Linked DNA regions of Homo sapiens: all the other regions are linked to region 1. The links are contacts of gene promoters, found by promoter capture Hi-C in blood cells and fetal thymus (Javierre and others, 2016). All regions are on one chromosome and are shown on one strand. Each heading gives the region's core, a stretch centred on a gene start or on the middle of the fragment in contact. The rest is flanking DNA. Distances are from core to core; before and after follow the strand shown. Region 1 holds the start of MAFB (MAF bZIP transcription factor B). Region 2 has its middle 57 kb from the start of LINC01734. Region 3 has its middle 120 kb from the start of LINC01734.

Region 1 (2,700 bases), core at 72-2,571:
TCTCACCCGGTGGCCCTGGGCCGCTTCACTGTGGCGCTTCCACTTTTGGCTACCGGCCTTCCTCCGCCCAGGACCTTCCGGCCCAGGGAGCAGCCGACGGGCACCCCCGAACGCTGGGGCACGGAATTTCAACGGGGCGACCAGAGCGGAGCTCGCGGCTCGAGGCTCGCGGCTGAGTACGAAGACGGGACCCGAGGACCTGTACATCGCTCGAGGGGAACCTGTCCTGGGCTCTGGTGCACACATAGTATGCGTTCTGGGCTGGCTTGGGTTGGGCCAGGTAGGGGAGACCTGGCTGGGTACGAGGCGCCGTCCAAGCCTTCCGGCCGTGGGCCGGGCGGTCGCGGCGCCTTTGCGCACAGTGGCCACTTGGGGTCGCACTTTATGCCTGTTTGAGCCTCTCCGCGGCGGGCTGACGCCGGGATCTGCTTAATCGTTACAAAACGTTCAAACAAAAACAGGGCCGGCTCCCCAGCAGTGGAGAGCTACTCGGAGCACCGTCCCGGGCCGGCCTCGGCCCCGAGGCTCCGGGGGCTCAGGATTCCGTGCGTGTGGCGGGGAAGAGGAATTCAGAGCCTTTGGGCTGCTGCTTTTCCCGTCGCCTTCACTGTGAACATTGTGCGGTGGGGTGAACGCGGGGAGCGGCGGGGCCAGTGGAGTCGAACCTCAGGGCTCTGCGACTGCACCCGCCAGGAGGGGCCCTCGCTTGGCCTGAGAAAGGTCCCCTGAGGTTAAGAGTTGGGTCTGAACACAACTCTCGGAGCCTCGAGCCCGCCCTCCCCAACATACAAATACGCGCAGATCTCCAGAAACAGGAACGCACGACACACACGGCCAGAAGCCGCGAGGACACACAGAGCGTCGCCCACTGGGCGGGGGCCGCTTGGGAACAAAGGGCCCAGGAGGCGTTGTCCCGGCGCTCATTCTGAGCCTCCTTGGGGGTGACACGGGATGGGGGTGGGGTGCAAAGGGAACTGAGGGAGGAGAGTGCGCGAGGAGGGGAAAGCGGTGATTTGGCCTAGAGGTGGGGCGCGCACTCCAGGCGAGCGTGCGTGGGCCGGGACCTGCAGGGTACGGGGGTGGGCCCAGGCTGGCCGTCCCACTCCGCTCCAGCGCTCCGCCAGGCCTCCGCCGCTCCGGGGCCGCTCGGGCCGCCAGTCAGCTGACGCGGGGGGCGGGGGAGCTGTCAGGCGCGCCCCGCCCTGCGCCGCTGGGCCGCGGAGGCCGTGCAGCTATTGGCCCGCGCACCGGGCCGCCCGGGCCCCCGCACCCCAGTGACATCAGGAGGCGATAAAAGGCTGCGGCGCCGCCGGATCCAGCACAGCTGCACCGCCGAGCTGCGAGCGGCTGCGAGCGAGAGAGCGTAAGAGCAAGAGAGCTAGAGAGCGAGCAACGGGCACTCGCCCCACGCCTCCCCTCAGCCCCACCGCGCGCTCCGCTTGCCTCTCCACCCCGCCCGACTCTACCCGGCCCGGTCCCTGCGCGGGCACAGCCCAGAGCTCTGGGGCGGTGCAGGCAGCCTCGGGACTCTCCGGCGCGCCGCCGCGTCCCCAGACAAAGGCTTGGCCGGCGGCCCCGGCCCGCTGCGCCCTCGCTCCCCGCCTCCCCAGCTCTTCTCCGCTCTTCCCCCCCGCGCTTGGCTCGGCGCGCTCCGGCCGGCCGCAAAGTTTCCCGGGCGGCAGCGGCGGCTGCGCCTCGCTTCAGCGATGGCCGCGGAGCTGAGCATGGGGCCAGAGCTGCCCACCAGCCCGCTGGCCATGGAGTATGTCAACGACTTCGACCTGCTCAAGTTCGACGTGAAGAAGGAGCCACTGGGGCGCGCGGAGCGTCCGGGCAGGCCCTGCACACGCCTGCAGCCAGCCGGCTCGGTGTCCTCCACACCGCTCAGCACTCCGTGTAGCTCCGTGCCCTCGTCGCCCAGCTTCAGCCCGACCGAACAGAAGACACACCTCGAGGATCTGTACTGGATGGCGAGCAACTACCAGCAGATGAACCCCGAGGCGCTCAACCTGACGCCCGAGGACGCGGTGGAAGCGCTCATCGGCTCGCACCCAGTGCCACAGCCGCTGCAAAGCTTCGACAGCTTTCGCGGCGCTCACCACCACCACCATCACCACCACCCTCACCCGCACCACGCGTACCCGGGCGCCGGCGTGGCCCACGACGAGCTGGGCCCGCACGCTCACCCGCACCATCACCATCATCACCAAGCGTCGCCGCCGCCGTCCAGCGCCGCTAGCCCGGCGCAACAGCTGCCCACTAGCCACCCCGGGCCCGGGCCGCACGCGACGGCCTCGGCGACGGCGGCGGGCGGCAACGGCAGCGTGGAGGACCGCTTCTCCGACGACCAGCTCGTGTCCATGTCCGTGCGCGAGCTGAACCGCCACCTGCGGGGCTTCACCAAGGACGAGGTGATCCGCCTGAAGCAGAAGCGGCGGACCCTGAAGAACCGGGGCTACGCCCAGTCTTGCAGGTATAAACGCGTCCAGCAGAAGCACCACCTGGAGAATGAGAAGACGCAGCTCATTCAGCAGGTGGAGCAGCTTAAGCAGGAGGTGTCCCGGCTGGCCCGCGAGAGAGACGCCTACAAGGTCAAGTGCGAGAAACTCGCCAACTCCGGCTTCAGGGAGGCGGGCTCCACCAGCGACAGCCCCTCCTCTCCCGAGTTCTTTCTGTGAGTCGTGGCCGGTCCTGGCCCCC
Region 2 (2,700 bases), core at 14-2,513, 1.4 Mb after region 1:
GAAGCCCACATCTTCTTCCCCAGGCAAACACATCTTCAGCCAAATGATAGAAGGAAATGGAAAAAAAAGACCCACAATTTATAGGCATTCATTTTACAGGCATCACTTCAGGGATACAGCTGGTCCCAAAGCAGCATTTCTCAAAGGGTGGTCCAGGAACCACCTGCATCAGAATCACCTGGGATCTAGTAAAAAATGCTAATTTCCATGTCCCAAGGAACACTTACCAAATCAGAATCTCTGGGGATGGACCTGGGAGATGTATATTTTTTAACAAGTCCCCTAGAGGTTCTTACGTGTACAGCCAGGCACACAAGAGGCCACCATACCAGGAAATCCAGGTAGCCTGCAGGTGATCATGCCCTGATTCTGCTCCCCGTACATCAGGCTGTGAGATCTCAGGTCTGAGATGCCTTGCCAAGGGCTGTGTCACCTCCTGCTCTCTCAGAATAAGATTCCTGGCAACACCCAGCCAGAGTGTCATGAAGATCCCCTAAATCCCCGGTGGATCTGTCAGCCCTGGTTTAACAGTATGCAGAGGCGGCTGGGTCTCGCAAGCAGTGGGCAGGTTCTTGGCTATGGCATCTGCCAGGAGAAGCTGGTAATAGGCCTGATTTATGACACTCAGCATGGGACCTGGCTGCTGAGCTCAATCACTGTGGCTCCCCACGGTGGGGTTCATGCGCTGTAACGGGCCTGGAAATTGGAGAGGAATTTACCTCCTGCTGCCGAACATTACATAACAATCAAGGGAAACAAGCAGAGGCAGGAGGGGGCCTCCTCAGCTGGCACTGGCAGCCTGGCACAGCAAAGGAGGTAGGACTGGGAGTTGTCTGCTTGGGTTCTCACGCCCTCGACAGCCTGTGCAAGCAGGTTCCAGGGTGGCCCCGTCAGAGCTGGCATCAGAGCCAGCCAAGATACAAGCATCAGCCCAGCAACTTTTAGAAGGGATGGCTGGGGAGACAGGCTCAGAGGAGGAAAAGGGCTGCCCTCTAAACTCCTGTCAGCCAGCCCAGTAGCTCTAATTCTAACAGCACTTACAGAACATGCACCAATTAATACCTTCCTGATTTGCAACTGGGAATAATTCAAATAGGACCTGAGATTGACATCTGCAACATGAGAGGCCATGGAACAAAATGAAGATGGGCAGGGAGAAGAGACCGAGATCAGCACAGGCCCATAGGTCATGGTGGGGAGCTTGGATATTCTTCCAAGTGCCCTGGACAGTTGCTGAAGGACCTTCTTTCATCTAGATCAGCCACCTCCCTAGAATTGCCCATAGGGTTAAGGAACATGTGACAGATGATTATGATAACTGAGTTCTGATGGACTCGCAAGGAACACAAGTTCTTATCTATTTATCAAAGCAGACCCAGGTAGGTGCATATTTTGGCAACTTTGAGATGAACTGACGCACTGTCTAACACTCATCAGCGGGTGATGAAACTTCCATTCTGACAAGGTGGCTGGGCCTCACAGACACTCTCCCACCCTAAATGAACCACAAAGACAAGATTCCAAGTACCACTCTTAGCTGCTGACTTCATGACCCACAAAATGTGCTGGCCTAGAAACCTACTAATTATTTTTCAGTAAAAGAACTTTATCTTCTGATTAAATATTACATAGAGGTCCAATGTATGAAATGCATTTATCACCATTGAAATTAATGATTCCTCTGTTGTCTGTCATCCTGACTAGACGCATACTCCTGTCCGCCTCCTTCACTAGCGTATTTCCAGTACTCAAAGAGTATCTGGCATGCAGTGGACACAGTAGCATTTGTGCAATCTGGAAAAGAATGGGATTAAATCAGATACACTTCTATTAAGGTATTAATATTAAGTGACACCAATTGTGTGCAAGCCAGGCCTTGCAATGAGTGCCCGGAGTATAATAGTAAACAAACTCATCACAGGCTTTCCTCTATTTTGCTCCTAGTGTAAGAGGAAATTAATATTAATAGATGCAAATTTGCAACTGAGGCGTGTGCTAGCAAATAGAGGTAACAGGACTATGAATATACAGAAGGGAAAACTGACCTGGTCAAAAGAAGGTCAGGGAAGGCTTCCTGAAGAAAGTGTTATTTAAGCTAGGACCTAAAGCACAAGTAATACTTAGCCGGATAATTGGGACAGGGAGGATGGAATTGCATTTCTGTCCAAGAGAACGGCATCTGCAAAGCCCTCAGTAGAAGGAATATGACCTCCTGATCCTGTGTTTCAATCATGGCATCTCTACCTCAGTCTGTTTTTACATATTGGACTTTCAGGGTCACATTCCTTTAGAAAAGAAGTGCTTGACAACTAAAATACAAATACTGGAAGTTGAGCTGACCAAATGACCTCAGAGGGCCCTATGAGCTCTTAAAATCTCTCTACATACAGACTCAAGAGAGCTTGGCAATGGCCTGTATGCCTAGGTCAAGGCAAGAGGTCAGGGGTCAAAGGTGACTGACCAGACCCACAAGACTGAATGGCGAGCTGTAGCTAATGAAAGAACAGTGTTAATTTGTTTCTTGTTTGCTTTTTTTCCTTACATTCTAGATGCACAGTAACTATTCTGGTTCTTTCTAAATGAGTTCGACGTCTTAAAGTGAATTCCTTTTGCCTTTACAACTTACAAAATGCAATCTGTTAAGCTCATTTCATACATTCATTCATCAAATAGTCACTGAAAATATATTTTAAGACATGT
Region 3 (2,700 bases), core at 160-2,659, 1.6 Mb after region 1:
CCTTGGCAGATGAAATTAAGCTAAAGATATTGAGATGAGATCACCACAGACTACTTGAATAAGCTCTAAATCCAGAGACAAATGTCCTTATATAAGTCAGAAGAGGACATACACAAAGGAGAAGGCAGTGTGAAAAGGGAGACTGAAATTGAAGTGATGTGGCCACAAGCCAAGGAAGCCAAGGAATGTTGGCAGCCACCAGAAGCTGAAGAGGCAAGGAAGCATTCTTCCCTACAGCCTCCAGAGGGAGTGCAGCCCAGAGTTGATTTCAGACTTCTGGTCTCCAGAACTATAAGAGAATAAATTGCTGTTGTCTTACATCACCTAGTTTGTGGTAATTTGTTGCAGCGGCTTCAGGAATATAATACATGGGGTTAAGTCTTAAATAAGATAATCCATGGAGTACAGTACCTATTACCCAGTAGGAGCTCAACAAAGGTCAGACATCATCACCATCACCATTGCCATCATCAGCATTGCCACTGTCATCTCCAGCACCATCATTAACACCATCACCATCTCCATGATCATCACCATCAGCACCATCACCATCGCCATCTCCAGCACCATCATCACCACAGCCACCAACATCTTCATCGCCATAATTACCACCACCATTTCCATCTTCATCACCATCATCATCACCATGTCCACCTTCATCATCACCACCCCATCTTCATCATCATCGTCCTTACCATCATCACCTCCATCATCCTCATCCTCATCATCATCATCATCGTTTCTGCACACACTGAAAATTTCTTCCTCCAATCTATACATTTTATTTAGGGGCATTTGATATTTCTCTGTTGAATACTTTAGCAATTTCTCTTTTGCTCTAACATCTTCTCCACAATATAGATGATATTCACATTTGTGCACCATTGCTCCCTCTCCTTTCTTGGGAGAAGCTTAATTCTGAGACCATATCTTTCTCCCAGTTTTTACTATTAAACTATTCTTTCTTTTGTGAAATAGTAATAATAAAAGAAGACAGCTGTTTTATACATCATTACTTAGAAAAGATATGGCCTGCTCTTTACATAAGGGTATCTCCTCTGGGTATTTCATTTGTTTTATTTTACTTGCCTATGGAATGTAGAAAACTGGAAATCAAAGTTCTAGTGTCTTTTGATGCCCCCCATCCCACCCCGCCATTTCAGAGTATGGTACTTGAGTGTCACCAAGATATGGAGGGAACTTGGGAGCTTCAGGTGCAGGGCTAATATCTGCTTGGGATGCTCAGGGAAAGGAAACAACATATTTGAATGTAGACTTCAAGCCAGACAAGAAGTGAGTCAGTGGTGGAAGAAGTCCAGACCTGAGGTCTCCGTGCCTCAAACTGTTAATGAAGGGCCCAAGCTCCCAGGGAACCCCAGGCCAGCTCACCCAGCAGGTGACCCCCCATCCCTCCTCCTCAGGGCCTTGCTGCCTCCTGACATCACCCTCCTCTTCCTTCCCACAGGCAAGGGCTCAGCACTTCTTCCCTGCCTCCATCCCGCATACCCACCCTGGAGATCAGGGCTGGGATAAGTACACCGAAAAGCCCCATGCCGTGATAGGTATGTAATTATGTACTGAGCAACTTAGCAGGCAGGATCAGTTCACCTTCCCTTGGTGAGGGGTGCATCAAGTCTCAGTAGGGGAGGAAGAGACGGAGGGTACAGGATGCTGTGTGTCTCCTGCTAAAAACTCTGGCAAGAAGCCAGAGGGTCAACTGATCAGTCCCAGCCCATCCCAGGCCTGAAGGCAACAAGCAAATAACCACAGCACAGCACAATCCAGGAGTGACAAGGAGAGGTTTGGGCAACTGTCATCTGCTTCAGGATGCTCAGGGAAAAGAGGTGACATTTGAATCCAGGCCTCAAGGGATCTGGAGAAGCTGTCAGGGTGAGAAGGAAGCTTCAGGAAGGGGACAACCTGACCGATGGCCTGGAGGCACAAAAAGGCATGTGAAGCTGGAGTCTGGCTGTTGAGCAGGCTGGAGGGATGGCTGCCAGGGAAGGAGTCACCCTTTTCCTGATTTGAGGGCTAGGTGCCTCTGGTCCCCACCCGAATGATGCATGGAGAAACGGGAGACTATGAAATGGGCAGTGACACAAAAAGGAGTTAAATGACTTATCCAATACTATAATCAAAACCAGAATTTGAACCCAGAGACTGGGATTCCACTCTTAACCCCTAAACCTCATACTAGTTAGAGACAGAGGTGATTCTAGACCACGAGCCACAGTGCTACAGTGGGCTCAGCCCAGGGAGTCATGAAGGTACGGAGAAGTCCCTGTGCTCCTCAGATTTCTGTTTCATAATGCTGCATAACAAACAGCCCCAAGTGGCTCAACGGTATACAATACTCGTGGGTCTGCAGTCAGCAGGACTGGCTTTGCTCCTGACTGCAGGTCACTTTCAGGTATGTTCCATGGGGCTCACACTCTGGGACCAGTGACTAATTGGAGGATCTTCTTTTCATGGTGAATGGGAAAAGCCCAGGAGAGTTGAGCTGAATAAAACAATTTCCACAATCCACCCCAACCCCACCCCTAGTGCCCAAGCCCCCTTTTCCTACTCCTGGGTGGTCTGCTCAGATCCTTTCTCTTGGCCACCCAAATTCCTCCTAAATATGCTCAGGAAAGATGCCCTATGCCCTCTGTCCAGATCATTCCTGACATCCCTCCCAGGGACCCCTGCTCTTCTTACTGA

The links. The method cuts DNA at HindIII sites, captures the fragments that hold promoters and counts their contacts. A CHiCAGO score of 5 or more calls a contact.
Region 2: a fragment that was not itself captured here is called in contact with the fragment with the promoter of MAFB in region 1 in 1 of 17 cell types (endothelial precursors); the score reaches 6.4 in endothelial precursors.
Region 3: a contact is called between a fragment that was not itself captured here and the fragment with the promoter of MAFB in region 1, in 1 of 17 cell types (endothelial precursors). The highest score is 7.4, in endothelial precursors.

What each region holds. Positions count from the first base shown.
Region 1 is chr20:40,687,857-40,690,556 of GRCh38, reverse strand. It overlaps MAFB (MAF bZIP transcription factor B), which reads left to right and starts at 1,321. Exons shown (of 1, transcript NM_005461.5): 1 at 1,321-2,700. The coding sequence starts at 1,707. The coding sequence ends at 2,678. RefSeq lists enhancers at 1-130, 131-1,108 and silencers at 1,059-1,368, 1,389-1,458. The HindIII fragment of the contact is 7,144 bases long and covers 1-2,076 here.
Region 2 is chr20:39,280,820-39,283,519 of GRCh38, reverse strand. No RefSeq gene overlaps it. Among named protein-coding and RNA genes, the nearest start is that of LINC01734, 57 kb to the right of the region's middle. RefSeq lists enhancers at 1-654, 655-1,333. The HindIII fragment of the contact is 6,741 bases long and covers 1-2,700 here.
Region 3 is chr20:39,101,417-39,104,116 of GRCh38, reverse strand. No RefSeq gene overlaps it. Among named protein-coding and RNA genes, the nearest start is that of LINC01734, 120 kb to the left of the region's middle. The HindIII fragment of the contact is 991 bases long and covers 914-1,904 here.